7 separate regions of the Homo sapiens genome follow, and regions 1, 2, 3, 4, 5 and 6 are each linked to region 7. Evidence: promoter capture Hi-C in 16 types of primary human blood cells and fetal thymus (Javierre and others, 2016). All regions are on one chromosome and are shown on one strand. Each heading gives the region's core, a stretch centred on a gene start or on the middle of the fragment in contact. The rest is flanking DNA. Distances are from core to core; before and after follow the strand shown. Region 1 has its middle 28 kb from the start of GBP6. Region 2 overlaps KYAT3 (kynurenine aminotransferase 3). Region 3 has its middle 9.8 kb from the start of RBMXL1. Region 4 has its middle 44 kb from the start of GBP6. Region 5 overlaps GBP6 (guanylate binding protein family member 6). Region 6 has its middle 63 kb from the start of GBP6. Region 7 holds the start of GBP7 (guanylate binding protein 7).

Region 1 (2,842 bases), core at 245-2,744, 160 kb before region 7:
GGTGGGTCCCCATGGTCTTGGGTAGCCCCACCTCTGTGGTTTTGCGGGGTGCAGCCTCTCTTCTGGCTGCTTTCATTGGCTGGTGTTGAGTGTCTGTGGCTTTTCCAGGTGCACAGTGCAAGCTGTCAGTGGATCTACCATTCTGGGGTCTGGAAGACAGTGGCCCTCTTCTCACAGCTCCACTAGGCAGTTCCCCAGTAGGGACTCTGTGTGGTGGCTCTGAACCCACATTTCCCTTCTGCACTGCCCTAGAAGAGGTTCTCCATGAGGGCCCCACCCCTGCAGCAAACTTTTGCCTGGGCATCCAGGAGTTTCCATACGTCTTCTGAAATCTAGGTGGAGGTTCCCAAACCTCAATTGTTGACTTCTGGGCACCCACAGGCTCAACACCATGTGGAAGCTTCCAAGGCTTGAGCCTTCCACCCTCTGAATCCACAGCTCAAGCTGTATGTTGGCCCCTTTCAGCTACAGCTGGAGTGGCTGGGACACAGGGCACCAAGTCCCTAGGCTACACACAGCACTGGGACCCTGGGCCTGGCCCAAGAAACCACTTTTCCTCCTGGGCCTTCAGGCCTGTGACAGGAGGGGCTGCTCTGAAGGTCTCTGACATGGGCTGGAGACATTTTCCCCATGGTGTTGGGAATTAACATTAGGCTCTTTGCTACTTATGCAAATTTCTGCAGCAGGCTTGAATTTCTCCCCAGAAAATGGGGTTTTCCTTTCTATCACATAGTCAGGCTGCAAGGTTTCCAAACTTTTATGCTCTGTTTCCCTTATAAAACTGAATGCCTTTAACAGTACCCAAGTCACCTCTTGAATACTTTGTTGCTTAGAAATTTCTTCCACCAGATACCCTAAATCATCTCTCTCAAGTTCAAAGTTCCACAAATCTCTAGGGCATTGGGAAAATGCTGTCAGCCTCTTTGCTAAAAATAACAAGAATCACCTTTACTCCAGTTCCCAACAAGTTCCTCATCTCCTCTGAGTTCCTCTGAGACCACCTCAGCCTGGACCTTATTGTCTATATCACTATCAGCATTTTGGGCAAAGCCATTCAACAAGTCTCTAGGAAGTTCCAAACTTTCCCAGATTTTTCTGTCTACTTCTGAGCCCTCCAAACTGTTCCAACCTCTACCTGTTACCCAGTTCCAAAGTCACTTCTACATTTTGGGGTATCTTTTCAGCAACACCCCACTATACTGGTACCACTTTACTATATTAGTCCATTTTCATGCTGTTGATAATGACATACCCGGGACTGGGAAGAAAAAGAGGTTTAATTGGACTTACAGTTCCACATGACTGGGGAGGCCTCAGAGTCATGGCGGGAGGCAAAAGGCACTTCTTACATGGAGGCAGCAAAAGAAAATGAGGAGGAAGCAAAAGCAAAAACCCCTGATAAACCCTTCAGATCTCATGAGACTTATTCATATTATGAGAATAGCACTGGAAAGATAGACCTCCATGATTTACCTCCCCCTTTGTCCCTCCCAGAACACATGGGAGTTCTGGGAGATAGAATTCAAGTTGAGATTTTGGTGGGGACACAGCCAAACCATATCAGGCACCCCTGGTGCAAATCCAACAAAGGGGTCAAGAGAAAACTCCTTCATCACTGCTTTGGTGGTCTTAGGTAAGATCCAGTACAATTTCATGGATTACCCAGCAAAGACTTTTGTTCTCTTCTCTTACTTTCCCAAACAAATGGAATATCTCTTTCCATGCTGAGCTGTCTGGAGTTGTGGGAAGGGTGACACAAACATCCTTATCACCACCACCAGGATTGCACTGGGTCAAACCTGAAGCCAGCATAGTACTGAATCTTGCTCAAGACTTGCAGCAACTACTGTCTGGTTACTGCTGATGTTCACACAAGGCCCAAGGGCTCTTCAGTCTGCTGGTGACAAATCCAGCCAGGCTTTTGTCCTTTTCTTTAGGGCTGTGTGTATTCTCTCTTTCACAGGCACATAGATTCTCTCTCTGTGCCACATGGCCACTGCTGGGAATGGGGAAAGGTTGATGTCAGCAGTTAAAGACTATCATTCCTACCCTCTTCAGTGTCTTTTTCCTTGATATGATTTTAATACCAGGCACTGCGATCATTCACATGATTTTTGGTTCTTTTGAAGGTGCTTTCTTGTGTGGATAGTTGTTTAATTTGGTGTTGCTAGGTAGGGGTAATGGTCTCTGGAGGGTTCAAACTGACCATCTTGCTCTGCTTTCTCTCTGATTTTTGTTGTTTGGTTTCTCTCTAATTTGACCTTGACTATTCTCTGTTGAGAGTAGTCATAAGCCAAGATAGCCACTCTCTAGGAGAGCCCTCAGTGGGTTGAAGGTAGTGGGGAGTTGGGTTTGGGTATATCAGGGAAGTAAGATGTAATGAGGAGGTGGAACCAAAGTGCATAAAACAGGGGAAATGTATTACTTACAGACCACAGAGAGGATAGGCCACTATTAGGAGTCAGATGGGAAGTCTGGAAGTGGCAGAGAACTCAACCAGTGAGCTGGGGGAAAGAAAGCAAGAAACAGAGAAGACCTGTGGGACTATGCCTTTATTAGGGTTCATGGGCATTATCCCTTAAGCTTTCCTGCAGGGATTGTGGATTGACTACTATAGTTCAGGTCTTTATCAGCCTGCAGGATGCATTCCTCCATTGCCAACTGTGACTTCAGGAAATGCTGAAGGAACTTATTTGCCTGAAGAAACAAGATGGAGCAAAGAACTTAGATTTCCACTAGGAAGATTTGTTCTCTACAAACAGGTTCATCCATGTCATTTTTTTTTTCTGCTTATAATGCTTCAGGAATCCCTTATAATTCATGATAGCTCCTTAGTGTGATG
Region 2 (2,866 bases), core at 286-2,785, 200 kb after region 7:
CCCCGTAGGATTCTAGGTTGATTTTAATTACCTGATACTGGATCTGCTCTGGGAAGTAGTTCTTACTTAGACAGTGAGCATTTGCATCTACTGCAGAATCTTGGTGACTCCGAACATTGTATAGTGTCTTGTAAACTTTCACCAGTGTGTTAGTTCCCTCAGGTTGCCTTAACAAAGTACTACAAACTAGGTGGCTTACTAAATAACAGCAGTTTATTCCCTCATTGTTTGGGAGGCTAAAAGTCTGAGATAAGTATCAGCATGGCCAGTTCCTTCTGAGAGCTGTGAATAAGATTGTTCTATACCCCACCCCCACTATCATCTGGTGATTGCCTGGAAATCTCTGCATTCCTTGGCTGGTAGGAGCATCACCTTAGTCTGTGCCTTCATCTTCACACAGGGTCTATGTATATGTCCAGATCTCACCTTTTTATAAGACCACCAGTCATATTGGATTAGGGTTCACGCTAATGACCTCATCTTAACTAATTACATCTGCAGTAACCCTATATCCACATAAGATTACATCCGGAGGAACTGGGAGTTAGGACTTCAACATATGAAACTAAGGGGGGCATGGTCCAACCCATAGCAACCACGTATCTCATTATACCTCCAGACTTCATTTCCACCATGTTTTTCACAATTATTTGCTGCTGTTCCCTGCTGGACAGTTACATTTCCTTGCCCCACTGATGTGAAGCTTAGCTGTGAAATTGCTCTGCCCAATAAAATATGAAAAGAAGTGATGTGTGCACATCCTAACAGAACCTTTTAAGAGCCTCTTCCCTCTGCCATGAAACAGGCAGTGTTCCAGGTGAAGGCTGTTTCATCAGCCTATGTCTCAGAATGACAGTGACACAGACCAGGGCAGCAGCTGAACCTCAGTGGATATGTAGTATGAACAAGAAAACCTTTATGATTTTAGGCCACCAAGACTTTGGGGTCATTTATCACTGAAGCATAAACGAACTTTAGCTGACTGATAGAGCTAACTGACACCATAAGTTCACCCTGTAATGTGAGTGAGGTTTTTTTAAAAAAATTCATTCATCAGATAATTATTTGAAACTATGTGCTAGGCATAACTATATGTTGGACACTGTGATGGTGTCACCTTGGCTATGCCCTGGTACCCAGATATTTGCCAAACATCAGTCTAGGTATTGCTGTGAAGGTGTATTTTAGATGAGATTAACGTTTAAATCAGTAGGCTTTCAGTAAAGCCAATTACCATCCATAATATGGGTGGGCCTCATTCAGTGGAAAACCTTAAGAGGAAAAGACTGAGGTCCTCAAGGAAGAGGGAGTTCTTCTGACTCCAGTTGCAGCATCCGTTCTTCCCTGAGTCTCCAACCTGCTCTGCAGATTTCAGATTTGCCAGCCCTCACAAACACATAAGCCAGTTCCTTAAAATAAATGTATGTATAGCTCACATTTATTTCAATGTTTCATATTAGAAGTGTTTCATTCTTTATTTAGAAGTATAGTAGTGATTTTGTGACCAGAAATATGCTGTAGAAACTGAACTCTTATTTATCTCAATTAGCCTATGGTAAAATTGGTCATGCTGTATATCATTTTGCTTAAAGCTGCAGTTTCCAAGAACCTATATGACACTTTTAAGTGATGACTTGCTGTACTGCATTTAATAGAAGCACATAGGAGAAGCACCTGACCCTGACTCGTAGAACCAAAGAAGGCTTTTGGGAGGGAATGAAGTCGAATTTGAGAACTGCACTTGGCAAGTGGAATAGGAGTTAGCCAAGTGCAAGGAAGGGTGGTGGGGACCAGGAATTGGACTGAGTAGAGAACATGCACTCTCAACAAGGGCATGATCTCCCCCAGGAGAAGAAAATGGGTGCTTGGCAGACAAGATAAATCTTAGCTATCACACTGTTTTGTCACCATCCAAAGCTCAATCCTATGTGACAAAATTGTATTCCTCTTAATATTTAATTGAGGGGAGGGAAGATGACTAGGAAAGAATTTCTAAGAAGGTCTCCTTAGGTGGGCAATAATAAAAAAAAACATTGAGAAACATTGGTATAGAAAGAGCATTTGGGCATAGGAAAGATCACACATGAAACTACTGAAATGAGAGAGAACATAGACTATTTGAAAAATTAGAATGGGTGTGGCATAGAATTGGGAGGGAAGAGGAAGCAGGAAGAACAATGAGAGAAGAGGCCAGTCTAGAAACAAATTTTAAAGAAAATTAAACCTGAAAGTGCATTTCAACCTCAATTATCTAAATAATTTAAAGTTGGATTTTGTGTCTAAATTATCTACAGCACATCAAACTCACTTTTTTATGTATAAATCATCCTTTGTGTTTGTGGTCTCTACTGAATGAATTAAGCTTTAAACATTGTGTTAGAGATAGACAAGAGCATTTGTTAAGATAGATATTTCAACCTATCATGCTAGAACTTGGTAGTTGTACAACTGTTGTCTCTAGAATGGCATCATGTTCAGGTGGGTAATTATAATGCTATTCCAGCAAGCTTTTTAACCTCTGGAGAATTTTCATGTGATTTACTTCACTGGAGTTTCAAAGACAAAATATGACACTAAAAAAGGTATTTTTCTTGGTCCCATTATTTAGAATAGAATGAGAACAATGGTCTATTTAATAACCATTATCGTTATCTTCCCAGATTGAATTAAAATTACATTAATATTCCATTAGAAAATTCTCTGCAAAAATGCTGTCAATCATTTTTTTATTTCTACCAGCTTGTTAACAATGAACTCAAAGCTAATTCAATACTTTTGGGAGATAGTATAAAACTCAATTTTAGAATCTAAAGAACTAAAAAATTGTATGCTATGTGATAATTTTAATTCCTATTTTTCTACTACA
Region 3 (2,888 bases), core at 270-2,769, 170 kb after region 7:
AAAAGATCTTCACCTAGGCACATTGTCATCAGGTTATCCAAAGTTAAGATGAAGGAAAAAAATCTTAAGAGCTGTGAGACAGAAGCACCAGGTAACCTATAAAGGAAAACATATCAGACTAACCTAGCAGATTTCTCAGCAGAAACCGTACAAGCCAGAAGGCAATGCGGCCCTATCTTTAGCCTCTTCAAACAAAACAATTATCAGCCAAGAATTCTGTTTCCAGCAAAACTAAGCATCAAACGTAAAGGAAAGAAACAGTCATTTTCAGACAAAATTGCTGAGAGAATTCACCATTACCAAGCCACCACTATAAGAACTGCTAAAAGGAGGTCTAAATCTTGAAACGAAGCCTGGAAACACACCAAAACAGAACCTCTTTAAAGCATAAATCATACAGGACCTACAAAACAAAAATACAAGGTAAAAAGCAAAAGCAAAAAACAAAAACAAAAAAATAACAAAGTACACAGGCAACAAAGAGTACGATGAACGCAAGGATTACCTCACATTTCAATACTAACATTGAATGTAAATCACCTAAATGCTCCACTTAAAAGATACAGAACTGCAGAACAGATAAGAACTCACCAATCAACTATCCACTGTCTTCAGGAGACTCACCGAACACATAAGGACTCACATAAAGTTAAAGTAAATGGGTGGAAAAAGCCATTTCATGCAAATGGACACCAAAAGCGACCAGAGGTAACTATTCTTATATCAGACAAAACAAACTTTAAAGCAACAGTGGTTAAAAGAGACAAAGAGGGACATTATATAATGATAAAAGGCTTGTCCAACAGGAAAATATCACAATCCTAAACATATATGCACCTAACACTGGAGCTCCCAAATTTATAAAATAATTACTAATAGACCTAAGAAATGAGATAGACTGCAATACAATAATGCTGGAGGACTTCAATACTCCACTGACAACACTAGACAGGTCATTAAGACAGAAAATCAACAAATAAACAATGGATTAACTATACTTTGGAACAAATGGACTTAACAGATACATACAGAAAATTTCTTCCAACAACCTCACAATACACATTCTATTCAACCGTGCATGGAACTTTCTCCAAAATGGACCACATGATAGGCCATAAAATGAGCCTCAATAAATTTAAGAAAATTAAAATTATATCAAACACACTATCGGACCACAGTGGAATAAAACTGGAAATCAACTCCAAAGGGAATCTTCAAAACCATGCAAATACATGGAAATTAAATAACCTGCTCCTGAATGAGCATTGGGTCAAAAACAAAATCAAGATGGAAATTAAAAAATTCTTCAAACTGAATGACAATAATGACACAACCTATCAAAACCTCTGGGATACAGCAAAGGCAGTGCTAAGAAGAAAGTTCATAGCCCTAAACACCTACATCAAAAAGTCTGAAAGTGCACAAACAGACAATCTAAGTTCACACCTCAAAGAACTAGAGAAACAAGAACAAACCAAACCCAAACCCAAACCCACCAGAAGAAAGGAAATAACCAAGATCAGAGAAATAAATGAAATTGAAAAAAACTACAAAAGATAAATGAAACAAAAAGCTGGTTCTTTGAAAAGAAAAATAACATTGATAGACCATTAGCAAGATTAACTAAGAAAAGAAGAGAGAAAATCCAAATAACTTCACTAACAAACAAAACAGGAGGTATTAAACCTGACACCACTGAAATACAAAAGATCATTCAAGGCTACTATAAACTCAGCAAAATTAAGTTACTTCCTCCTTAGTTTGGTAGCATCAATGTCCTGACCCAAATCCATATCATCTGACTTCTGATTTAGTGCTTTTCTTTAATATCTCCAGGAATCAAATAAAGCTCACTGTCCAAGGAGGCATGTTGCTTTCACCAGTGCTCCTCAATCCTGATATGCATTAAAATCACCTTATTAAGTATAAAGATTCCCTGGCCCCTACCCTTCCTCTGACTTTCTGACATAGTAGGTCTGAGAGTGTCATTGAGTGCAACAATGACAAGAAAATGGCAATGCAATGCTATGATTTTCTTGCATTGTTCCTGGATCTACAACCAGGAGTACTGGCCATTGGGAGCCTGAATAAGTTGGCTCTGGAATCCTTTTGGAATGACCCTGTAGCCTTCTCACTATCTGTATGACAAGGTGCTTCAGGTTTCCCTTATTCATTTCCTGTTTGCTGAAGCTACCATAGCTTAAGGCCTAAAATTGCTGGCCTGTATGGTATGTGTCTCTGTGCCAAAAATATTTTCAGTTTACAGAAGTATTTCTTCTCTTGTTTAAGTAATAAGTTGCTAGTTTTCCTTCTCTGAGTTTAGTGAAAGGAAATACAAGCTCCTCTGATCCACAGGGAAGGAGCACATCAAACACTGAGATCCTGACAAAAAAAAAGAAAAAAAAAGGCAGAAATCCCTCAGTGAAACCTGTCCAATCAGTCTTACAAATGACCAGGCTCAAGAATCAACAAAGCCAAATAAAGTGTTTCTACCAAAAAAATTTTAAAAAACATCAAGATTTAAGAAATACTTTTAATCTTTGATGCATTAAATAGTAAAACTAAAAATCAACATTTCAACATTCTGACAACTCTATGTGTATAACTTCTGCAACTCAAATGGACTAATTTCTGAAAAAAGCACAAACAAGCAACTAAAACTCACCCAAGTTAAAATAGATAACCTGAACTGTCATATAATTTCTAAAGAAACTGAAATGGAGTAAAAAAGTTAAGAATCTGAAAAACAAATCTCCACATCCAGATAGTTCCTCTTGACTGGCAAACCTTACTAAGCATTTTTTAAATAATTCCAATTCTTAATAATTTCTTTCAGAAAATATAAAAGGGAACATTTCCCAATTCATTCTATGAGCACAGCATCATCC
Region 4 (2,700 bases), core at 76-2,575, 230 kb before region 7:
CTTCCTATGTTGAGGGAGTGCTGGGAGAGTCTCCAGAGCACCTTAGATAGTATTATCAAGACTTTTCCTGGGTCTGGTCTGTGCCTGTTGCTGCCTCTGGGACAAGTCAGCCTAATACAGGAAAACTTATTTCTTTTTATTTTTAATTGTATTTTTCTTTAATTTCCTGCCTCATCAACACTCAACTATGCTCACAACTCAAATATTTCATTTAATTTATAGTGGAAAACTTTCTTTTTGGATTCTTTTTAAATATTTTCACTAGTCAATTAATGGAAGATAGAACAGGATTTAGAGGATTTATTTTGCATCCTGGCTGTGTATAAGGAATTCAATATTGATTTACTTATTAATTCTTACAGTGAATAATACAGTGAATCAGTATTCATAGTTTGATGTTTACCCTTAGAACAATTTCCAAAGATTTTTAAATGTGTTCCTTCCTCCATCTTCAAGTGGTTATGCTTATTTCACCGCAATGAGGATCAATAAAGCTTTTCACGGTGCCATTCTGGAAGTGGAAACAACGTAACATACTTTTGCAAATTTTAGAAAACTATACAAACATGTGAAACACATGGCTGAGGAACCTTCCAAGGACTCTGAAGGGTCATGTCCAAGAGAAGGGCCCTGAAACTTAAGCTGCGTTAGAGTCACAATAAGGTAGCCTCTAACTCAGTGAGGGTATGAATGCAAAATTGCAAATGCTGAATGTTTCCCCCAGATAATGAAATAAGGATTAAAAGATCAAGAGGCAGATAAAGAGAGCTACCTAGGAAGTTGTTCAAATGAAATATATTTCCAGCGATACAGCTTTAGGATTTCTGTTTTGTTCTGTTTTCCATTTGGTAGGGTAGGAGAAAGAGAAATAGAGGAGGAATAGTAGGAGTGGAGAGGAGGAGGAGAAGGGGCTGGGAAGGTGTGTGTGTGTTTGTGTGTGTGTGTGTGTGTGTGTGAGAGAGAGAGAGAGAGAGAGAGAGAGAGAGAGAGAGAGAGAGCGAGAAAGAGCTATCAGACCAGAAGGTGATGAATGAGGCTAGTGTCTTGACAAGGAATTCAGGCGAGGACTTTCCAGAAGGCAGGATTAAAGTAGTCTGATTGCATAGAGAGGTTAAAATAAGCAAAGATATTTTCTCTAGAGATGCATTACAGGAGAATTAAAGAGGAAACACTTTAGGCCCCAGTCTCTACTAAAAGAAGACAAAATTGGAAGCACTTTAGTGAAGCAGTGGGGTTGAATTTCACTTCTAAGGGACAGGGATCAGTGGGCACTAGGAAATTAGTGAGTCTGGACTATTTCTAAAGAAAGTAATCCATTCTGAAACGAAGTTCACAAGTGTAATAAAAAGTATACTGTTTTCATGAATCTTCATCTTTCAGGCTGAGTTTCAGTTTTTTCTTTGTCTTTAACCATGTCAGTGGGCTGATTACTCTGCTTCTCATTTGCTGTTCTTTCCTTATGAAAAGAACCCATTTGTAGCTCTTTCCATTTCTTAGCTGCATAGGAGCAGGATTCAGCAAGCTCCATCACTGATAATGGAAATGTAATCATGTCTCCAGTCAACACAGAGAATGACAACAAAGAGAAAGACTATCCTAGTGCATTTCAAACTCTCAGTTTAGCCCCTGTCTACTGGTGCCTAATTCAACACAAACACTGTAGTGTCACTTAAGGCCATGCTGTCCCTGATAACACCAGGATTTCATCTGACCTGCGTCCCACTTCAGGCTCATCTGCAGCCTAATTTGGTTCTGACGATGTTTAAGAAAATGAACTGACCTTTATAAATTCCTTCCCATCCCTGCCACAACCTTATGGGTTCCATATCCCTGAGCTGAGATCCTTTGGAGCTAAAGAGAAAGCTGCTTAATGAGAAGTAGTAAAAGTTCTTACCTGTTCTTTTTCTCCTTAGTTCATGAGGAGTGGCTTCTAGCACTTCTGTGTCTCTCACTGGATCCTTGGACTAATATTTTACTGTTCCAACGTTGTAGGGCTGGGATTTCTTCAGTGATGAAATATTTAAAGGTTAAGCATATTTGTAATGGATTTAGAGTAATATGAAACTGAAAGTACTTCATTCAAGTCCACTACCATAAATGAAATTACTGGAGTGTGCCAGTGGGAGGGTTTAATGATTGCTCAACCAGAAGCTTCAAAGTTTTTTGTTGGAAATCTTAGAGACCATTTGTTGTCTAACAAAATGCCCATTAGGTTTTGAATACAATGATACATGTCTCATGGATTGAGTCAGTTTGAGAATCCTAGAATGAGGAGGCATCATGTTAATTTTCAGCTATAATTTCCTAAAATAATAGACACACTCACAATGGAGCTGCCTATTCTTTTAGAGGTGCGGTAAATAAGGAAAGGGCATATTTAACACATTGTCTGACATAAAAAGTCAGACAGCTGGAAAAAAATAAGTAGGGAATTTTTCATTTAGATGGTGGGGATGAGGAAGCATCATTTCCTCACTTTTCAGTTCACTTGGTTTGCAGTCTATGGAATCCTTCTAGTAGATAGTCACAGATAAAATTAATTCACAATTTAGTATTATTACATGATGCAATAATTAATGTGTATATGCCTAGTGATTTCAAAGATTGTCTTGATATTAGCATCCAATGAACAGACTGAATTTCAGGTGTGGAATGTTTTGATAATAAGCTTATTTTCACACAAAGAGCTCTATGCAGCCG
Region 5 (2,761 bases), core at 59-2,558, 210 kb before region 7:
CCAGCTGCTGTTCACATCAAATACACTGTGTGGAACATATGTTTAACTTCTTGAGATTACTTTTAAAATCTCCCAAAACAGCAGCTTCGACCCTATTTATATTCCCCAAGGACTTGTAGGGATCATAGTCAACCTTACCTCTCCAGAATCTAAGTATAGAGAATATAGAGAAGAATTCCAAGTCTTACTGAAACAATTAAGAAAAAAAGGATTCAGGGCTTTTAGTGATTGCCAAGCAGCAAATGGTGATGTGCTTCCTTTCATGATGTTGCTGTAACCTTCACCAGCCCTTCCTGAGGTACCTGGGTGAGGACCGTCTGGCCTGCTGAGGCCAAGGGCAGACTTACCTTCTGCGTGTGCTCCAACATCATAATCTGCTCTCTCAGTAGGTGTTCTCTCTCCATCTGCAGCTTCTCCTTCAGTTGGGCTATGTTTTCCTTGCGACTCTTATCTTGAGCCTCCATCTGTTGCTGCTGCTCCTGTAATTTCTGTTTTAAAAGTTCCTGTTCCTTCTCAGCTGCCTCCTTCTTGGCCCGATCCACTGCTCCATGAAGGTATTAGAAAGAGAAGAAAATAATAGGTGAAGATTCATCTCCACTTTTCTGAGCTGAGACTAAACCAAATCTGAAAGGCAGGGTGAGAAATCACAGAATTCACCCAGGTCCACACCATTAAGAGCGCATTTGAGAATGTGATGGGAAAGGCTCTGCCTGTCTGGCTGATGTACAATCATAGCTCCCCTTGTTATTTTAAGATTTAGCAGAGTGTGTGTTCCACAGAAGAGGAAATTCCTCATTTTGGGAAGGTTTTCCTGTTAGATCTGTTAGAGGGCATTGTATAAACGTACCCCTCCTGTGTAAGCTGAGCCCTGCCCCATACCTGCTACTGCCTTCTCTCTATCAGTGAGGGCTTTATCTGACTGCAAGATGGATTCCTCTATCACCATCTGTGACTCCAGGAACCTCTGGAAGACCTCTTTTGCCTATGGAAGGAAGAAAAAGCACTTAGATTTCTTTGAAAATCTATGTTCTGGGTATTAGTGTTGCAAGAACAATTATGGTCTTGTAACTTTTGCTTTATGCCTAAAATTCTAAAGTGGCCCCCTACAAAGTGTGCGGGCTCTTTAGGGTGACCAGAGCCCCTCCTCAATTCCTGCTTCCTGTCTCCCTCCAGTGCCTTTCCCACTGCTGTAATATCTCCCTGTACCCGTTTTGGGTTCCGGCCAGGCAGAACTATGTGCACAGGTGTACAAACTCCCAATCTCTGATGCTTATACATGTCTGTCTTCCAGTGTGCAATGCTGCCTCTAATCTATGCTGTTGCTTTCTCCTGCCACTTGCTGGCTAGAACTTTAGGCAAGTTATGTAATCATCCTTGGGTACTAAGTTCAGATCTGTAAAATTTCCAAATAAAGGTGCTTCTTAAAGTCATTAGGAAGATGAAATTAAAATGTCTGGGGAAGAATTTAACAGTATACTGTAGGTAATAACAGCTCGTGAGTTAGTTGTATTATTACTACTATTATGTTTATTACCACCACCTAGGTGGTAATTTTCATTCTGTCTCTCCTGGATTTCTGAATACTATACTCTTTGTTTTGGAATAAAAATTTTTATTCTAAGAAATAAATATTAATTAGTGGACATTGAAAGCTAAGGCGTTATGCTATCCCTCTGCTCTCTTATTACCCACGGCTGGTGCTGAAGACTCCATTCACTCTATCCTATAAACTTCCCCATGCTCCCCTTATTCCTTACCTTTACTCCTTTCCTGGGAACTTGCCAATAGTCCTGTTCAATCCTTTCCTTTGTTTCCATGTAGAGCTTGTGCCCTCCAGGAACAGAGAAACTTCCTGCTGAGATACTTTCCATTAGTCCCTTTGAGAGCTCATTGAGTTTAGCCTGGCAGTATTGAACAGATGACTCTTCATTCTGCAGCAAGAAATCCCCCTTCTTATTCATTGTGGTTTCCTGCAAGGGAAATGTAGAGAGATGTCACCAGAAGAAACATGGAGGAGATGAAATTCTAAAGAATCTGGTGGTAGAGTCAATCTAACTGTGGTCCTCATGAGAAAAACATTCTAGTGGAGTAGATGTGGAATCAGAAACACAAAACTTCATACATTTACAATGCTAGAAATTCTCTTCAAGGCTATGGAAAAGTTCATTAATCTTCCTGAGCTTCAGGTTCCTTATCTGTGACATGATGAGACTACATTCCATAATCTCTATGGTTTGTTGCAATGGTATCATCCTGTGTTCCTGTCCTCAATGGTACAAGGATACAAGAAGGAGCAATGTAAGTTGAACAATGGCCCGGAATTACGATCTGGTAAGAGAATCTTTGTTTCCTGGGAAAGGTAAACTATGCACAGAAAAAGTGCACTGCTCAGGGATGACTTGTGCGTGTTCAGAGCAGGCCTGGAATCCTTAGAAGTGTTCACTTGAGGATCTTAAGTGATCTGTATTGATTTTACCTCAGTTATCAGAAGATTTTCTAGTTAAGTGCTTATATGTAGTCTTTTGAAACTCTATCCCTCATGAGAATCCACAATAAGTTATTCCTCAGTGACAGATGAGCATTGGTGACAATAAAGGCAACTATAGGCTTCATTCTTCAAGGGGAAGGATGATGAACAGTAATGACTAAGGCAAATTACCATGAACTTCTTCTGGAATTCCTGATTTTCATCCTTGAAGGAGTGCTCCATGAAGATTGCAATGGCTTCCCTCTCACAGGCCGCATGCATGTCCAGCAGCTC
Region 6 (2,814 bases), core at 152-2,651, 250 kb before region 7:
TTCCATTGCAATCAGGCAAACGGCCTGCATTGGTTTAGGTAACTGACACTCCCAAGACTCAAGGAGCTGCCGTGCAGCACTATTTTGAAAGCCCAGCCCCCATCAGACTGTATCTTGCTCTGGGGCGAACAGCCCCATCATCTCCACGTCCCTGGAACCCTGCGGACATCTCTTCATTTCCACCCAGAGGGCTGCAACTTTGTCCCGTGGGCTGAATCCAGTGGTGCAGTAAGGAACAGCAGTGCACCACACCAGGGAGGCTGCCCCCAGGACAAAGGGAGCCTAAATGCACACTCCTCAGTTTCTGAAAGCCACTTGCCTGGGGCCACTGCCACCAACAGCAACCCTCTCAACCTTCCACCGGAAGCAGGGCCACCAAGCATCTGCATGTGCCTCCAATGGTCCTGGAGCTGGTCTACCCAGACACTGTTCTGTGTCCTGAGGACAGGCTCTCACACCACCCACCATGCAAACATGCTGCCCAGGGCCTGGGGATCATGCTGCCTCAACTGTAGCTGTGGGCATGTGCATGCAACATCAGGAAGTCTGACAGCAGGCCCAGGTCACCTGCCACTGGGACCCAAGCATGCCATCCAGGGGCCTGGTGATTTCCTGGCCCCACTCACCATAGCCTGCACACTTGCACACCATTGGAGGGTCTAAGGGCAGGAAAGCAACATGCCTCCCTGGAGAGAGCTTGATTCTATTCTGGCATATGCTAGAGAAAAGTACTAAACCAAGTCAGATGCTTTGGAATGTGGTCTAAATATTAATGCTACCAAACTGGGGAGGAAGTAACTCAGTTTTGCTGATTTTTCATTTTCTTATGCTTTATTGGTTAACAAAGAAACCATTATTTGCTTTTGAAGGCAGAGTTATTATTTTCTACCATGAAGTTACTTCAACTCATAAAAATGTATTTTATTTACACCTTTGTAGCAATGGAGCTTGGAAGAAAATATAAAGCTTACCTACATGAACATTTCATCTAGTATTCTGTGGTCTCACCTGGTCTTCTATGAAGTTTCAGTTCAAGTGAGGAAACAGCACCATGCTCTATTATGAAAGGAGGCATTTGCCATGTGATTGGATCAGAGGTAGCTCAAGGTAATAAAAGGCCTCAAAGCAATTAGAAAAGACAGAATTATTAATGTGGATTTAATGGCATTAACTGCTTCCCTCCTTTTTTCTCACTGTGTTATTTTGAATAACCACATAGTTTTTTCAAGATTCTAATATATATAATCTAATCCATATGATTTTTGTACGTGTGAGTTACACAAGGCCGGTATATAAAACTTTGACCAATGTGTCTGTAAATCAGAGTTCTGCAAACTATGGCTTATGGGTGCCACCCTGTTATTGAAAATAAAAATTGATTGGAACATAGCCACACCTATTGGTTTATGTATTTTCTATGGCTGCATTTGCACTACATGCAGAGCTGAGTACTTGAGACAGACTGTATGACCTGCGAAGTCATAAATAGTTACTATCTGGTATTTTCAGAAAAGATTGCCAACCATTGCTATAAAGACTAAAACCTTCTTTTCTGACAAAAATAACTGCAAAAAGAAAACTTAATCAGAAATAAGAAGCCTAGTGAAATACATTGTATTTACAGTTCAGAAATAATTTTTAATTGCTATAAGAAACATCAACCACTTTCCTAGGACTTTTGACACATGAGATAAAGTCTATGTATACTAAGTAAACACAAGAACATTATTAAATGGGTCAAAAATGTCAAAAAACATCCGATATTCTCTTCTGGGGAAACTCAGCAAGATTTCAAGTATGAGTGTTAAGAATTAGAAAAGACTAGCATAAGCTTTAGCATTCTAAATAATAAGTAATTGAATTAATTCAATTCTGTTACACAGCATCTTTTAAAGTCAATCTTTGCAAATTATACATTGCCATAAATACAGTGTGTAATTGGCATTATGTGACTTTGTTTAATCCAGTGTCAACTGTCTAATGGTCTAAAGTGTCCCATTAAAGTTATAATCTGGATGAACTGAACAAGAAGAAAAGTTTTCTTCTTTAGCCCATTTGTTTATCACTCAATTCCTGCTCCTGCTCATGGTTTCTTCCACCTACCTCTGGAGAACATAAAGGGATTCTAGATCTCTGTATAAGGTGGTTTGCTTTAGCTTGAAATCATCAGTGAGGACAATACATGGGCAATGTCCACAAATCACATTATTGCTCATAGACTGTGTAGCCCTGATCTAATGGATAACTGTACATTGTCTTCACTAAGAAGCCAGGGTGGTTGTCCTTGATATTGGGACATTGTAGACTTGGCCAGACCAATGCCCAAATATTTCCCAAGACTTTTACCTAAGACTCTGCTCAGTACCCATTTGTCTACTGCTGGTCATCTGGAAGAATAAACTCCTGGGTGGTACCAGCTCATGAACCTTCCTGAGTTGGTACAGAGGTAAATGCATCTTTTTTGCACAATTTACAGTCTTTTTTTTTTTGGAAAAAACATGATTTTGATCATTGTACTGCATGCCTTTATAAATTTTGGTGTTATGATGCAAGATCTAATTATTATCAAATGTAGTGTCGCTTGTTCCAAATTCTAAAATTGTTTCAATTATGCCTTGGGTAGGGGTGACAGGAAGGCTCTGGTCTTTAGTTTATGGTACATGTCCTTGGTTGTATCATTGTCCTCTGGAGATTCTGTATCTCATTTTGGATTCTTCTGCTTACGTTTTCAAATCTCTCTTTTAGTAGTCGCTCTTGTTCCTAAAGAGGGACAAACGGAGGCTGAATAAAGTGTGGCATCGGGAAAATTGAAAT
Region 7 (2,700 bases), core at 195-2,694:
TTGGTGGCTCATGCCTGTAATCCTAGCTACTCAGGAGGCTGAGACAGGAGAATCGCTTGAACCCAGGAGGTGGAGGTTGCAGTGAGCGAAGATTGTACCATTGCACTCCAGCCTGGGCAACAAGAGAGAAACTCTGTCTCAAAAAAAAAAAACACAAGTTGGGAAAGTGGGATCTTTTTTTCTTATAAATTTATGTACCCTTAAATTATACATGATTCACAAAGATTCAATTTTGCCTGGGGCTATTTTTTGTTTGCATGATATAAACAATAGATTTTATTACTTAGAAGCAGGTGATTTCCTAGCAATAGTTCTGTTTTGAAATAACCCTGCCTTACTTTCACTTTAAATCTCATCAATATTCACACACACACAGAGAAGTCTTACTCTCTGCTCTCCATTTCTCTCTCTCTCTTCCCCGCTTCCCACCTTCCTCTCTTTTAGAGACAATGTGCAGTAGAGAATCAATGTGGTTTTAACCAAATGGATTTTCAAGTTTGAATCTCGCTCAATTACTTGCTACCTTGGTGTGTAGCTCAATGGCTTTAGTTAGACATATTAATTACCCGTTTTCTGATTATTTTTCCCCCTTGGACAATGGGGATAATAAACAACCTTTATCTTGAGGTATTTTGATATTTAAAATGGTATGTGTAAAGAATATGGCCTAGAATGGAACTGATAAGGAGAAAACATTGTTATTGTACACTCAGCAAACACAGAGGTATTTTAATGAAGTGACTGACAGCAAGACTTCTTGGGCCCAAATCTTATTTAGTAGCTCTGTAATTGTAATAAATTATTAAATCCCTCTTTTAACATTGTGGTAAAAGTATTTGTGATAAGAATACAATGGGATAATCTATGTAAACAAAACGGGTACTATCTTCATTATTATTTATTAAATGTTAAGTGCCAAGACCTGAGTTAGGTGCTAATAATTCAAACATGTATAAGACGTGGACATTCCTTCAGGGCATTTAGAGTCCTCATTATTAAACACAAATAATGAGTTCCATTTTAAGAGTCTAATATTCAAGCCAATTGAACCTAAATAATATTATATTAAGCTTTCTTATTCCTGTACTTCTCAATGTGGCCCACAAACATGAGATGAATGTCATTATTTTAAACGATTCATTGAAGTTTTTTTAATAATCGCAAGCTGTCTCTAAGATCTCTTCCAATAATAAAATTGGAAGATTCTGTTTGAGAAATTATGTCAAATCCTCTCACTAGCACAGCTGTCAGCAATTTCTTTTATTGTTGCTAAATCATGGACTGTCATATTACTCTATTTATTTGCAGAGGTTGCATTGTTTTTTACATGTATAAATACAGGTCTCTAGAAAGTCTGGAAAGCCCCATGACATTGGAGAGGTAAGGTAAAAGTCCAAAGTTCCAGCAAGAAAAAAAGTGGGAGAAATCAGTGCAGCCAAATTCAGAACTAAAGAGAAGAGAATAAAGACTCATAACTTTCTCATTGAAGCTGCCTTCTTACCAAGTCCAGAGGATCTCTACTCTGGGTAAGACTATGACTTATAAGGATTTCATGATTTATAAGGATCCATTAGTTTTCTCTAAGTTGACCATCCCCAAGATAGGCTGCAGCTGAGCCAGCTACAGGATACAAGTCCAGATGAAATCCTGGCCTCTTAGGTGGCTGTGTGTACCTTAGTGTGCTCTAATTCCTGCTGTGTCAGATTAGGCTTCAGCAGAGGTGGAACAGATATTCAGAGAAGCCAGTGTTCTAAGATTGTTATTTCTTTTCTGACACCATCTTAAATTACTGTTATCTTTAAATATCTGCCTAATAGGCTCTGTCACTTTCTTTATTGGGCCCAACATTTATAGCTCTAGGTAAATGAAGGTAGGCAACTTGGGATCTGCAAAAAGAGGCAACACATTATTATAATCCAGGACCTTATAACATCTTTGTGCCACCACCTTTCTGAGCCGGTGACTGATTGATTCCTATGTTATGGTAGCATAGTATATGCTACAGAATTGGACAGACGCATACTCTGTTTTCACTCATCTTCCATAGATACCCAATCTTTTTAGTTTCTGGTTTGCCCTTCTTGCTTGCCAGCAGATCCTGTAGGCCATTGCTATAAGAGGAAATGGGTCATGATCACAGAAAAATAAACGGCTTTTTTTCCATCTTCTGCTGAAGTGATGGGAAGCCAGATAATTTAATATAAACCTCCAGAGGAACAAGTCAGAAGTAACCAACTCTATAGTGGAAACAAACCACTCTTTATTATAGGATAAAAAAGAAAACTGCAGTATCTATCATCTATATTTGCTTGTATCTTAAAGAGATTATATATTTTGTATCATGATCACATAAGTTACAAGGATTGAGACATTCAACTTAAAAACACAAAATTAAAGCATCACTACAAGAAGGCTTTTCACTCCTTTTAACTTTACAAAATTATCAAAATATTTAATTTATCAAGCCCTGGATAAAGATAGCATGATTACAATTGTGCATATGCTACTCTCTATACAGCAGAGATCAGACAAAAAACAAGCCATGGTTTTTCAAAGAATGTTTCATGCTGTGACTTCATTACATGAAATAATTAAAAACAATATGCAGACTGATATACATGGAGGTAATAAAGAATCAATCTTCAAATGCAGAGAATTCAAAATCTGTTAACATAATCAAGTCAAAAATCAACAGAGTAA

Evidence for each region. Contacts are between HindIII fragments. The CHiCAGO score rates a contact against its expected background, and 5 or more counts as called.
Region 1: a contact is called between a fragment that was not itself captured here and the fragment with the promoter of GBP7 in region 7, in 3 of 17 cell types (total CD8 T cells, total CD4 T cells and activated CD4 T cells). The highest score is 6.5, in total CD8 T cells.
Region 2: a fragment that was not itself captured here is called in contact with the fragment with the promoter of GBP7 in region 7 in 1 of 17 cell types (activated CD4 T cells); the score reaches 6.8 in activated CD4 T cells.
Region 3: a fragment that was not itself captured here is called in contact with the fragment with the promoter of GBP7 in region 7 in 1 of 17 cell types (activated CD4 T cells); the score reaches 6.4 in activated CD4 T cells.
Region 4: a fragment that was not itself captured here is called in contact with the fragment with the promoter of GBP7 in region 7 in 5 of 17 cell types (activated CD4 T cells, total CD4 T cells, total CD8 T cells and 2 more); the score reaches 11.9 in activated CD4 T cells.
Region 5: a contact is called between a fragment that was not itself captured here and the fragment with the promoter of GBP7 in region 7, in 8 of 17 cell types (activated CD4 T cells, total CD4 T cells, neutrophils and 5 more). The highest score is 10.3, in activated CD4 T cells.
Region 6: a contact is called between a fragment that was not itself captured here and the fragment with the promoter of GBP7 in region 7, in 6 of 17 cell types (activated CD4 T cells, naive CD4 T cells, M1 macrophages and 3 more). The highest score is 11.1, in activated CD4 T cells.

The regions. Positions count from the first base shown.
Region 1 is chr1:89,334,670-89,337,511 of GRCh38, reverse strand. No RefSeq gene overlaps it. Among named protein-coding and RNA genes, the nearest start is that of GBP6, 28 kb to the left of the region's middle. RefSeq lists an enhancer at 1-314. The HindIII fragment of the contact is 2,183 bases long and covers 403-2,585 here.
Region 2 is chr1:88,970,631-88,973,496 of GRCh38, reverse strand. The region is part of intron 2 of KYAT3 (kynurenine aminotransferase 3); the gene reads left to right. Among named protein-coding and RNA genes, the nearest start is that of KYAT3, 21 kb to the left of the region's middle. The HindIII fragment of the contact is 1,659 bases long and covers 706-2,364 here.
Region 3 is chr1:89,000,989-89,003,876 of GRCh38, reverse strand. No RefSeq gene overlaps it. Among named protein-coding and RNA genes, the nearest start is that of RBMXL1, 9.8 kb to the right of the region's middle. The HindIII fragment of the contact is 3,251 bases long and covers 1-2,888 here.
Region 4 is chr1:89,406,953-89,409,652 of GRCh38, reverse strand. It overlaps the pseudogene GBP1P1. Among named protein-coding and RNA genes, the nearest start is that of GBP6, 44 kb to the right of the region's middle. The HindIII fragment of the contact is 1,657 bases long and covers 497-2,153 here.
Region 5 is chr1:89,381,873-89,384,633 of GRCh38, reverse strand. It overlaps GBP6 (guanylate binding protein family member 6), which reads right to left. Exons shown (of 11, transcript NM_198460.3): 7 at 2,660-2,761; 8 at 1,758-1,970; 9 at 880-982; 10 at 348-541. Among named protein-coding and RNA genes, the nearest start is that of GBP6, 19 kb to the right of the region's middle. The HindIII fragment of the contact is 8,356 bases long and covers 1-2,761 here.
Region 6 is chr1:89,426,076-89,428,889 of GRCh38, reverse strand. No RefSeq gene overlaps it. Among named protein-coding and RNA genes, the nearest start is that of GBP6, 63 kb to the right of the region's middle. The HindIII fragment of the contact is 865 bases long and covers 969-1,833 here.
Region 7 is chr1:89,174,747-89,177,446 of GRCh38, reverse strand. GBP7 (guanylate binding protein 7) reads left to right here and starts at 1,444. Exons shown (of 11, transcript NM_207398.3): 1 at 1,444-1,526. The region is part of intron 3 of LOC105378842 (a long non-coding RNA gene); the gene reads right to left. The HindIII fragment of the contact is 1,918 bases long and covers 1,073-2,700 here.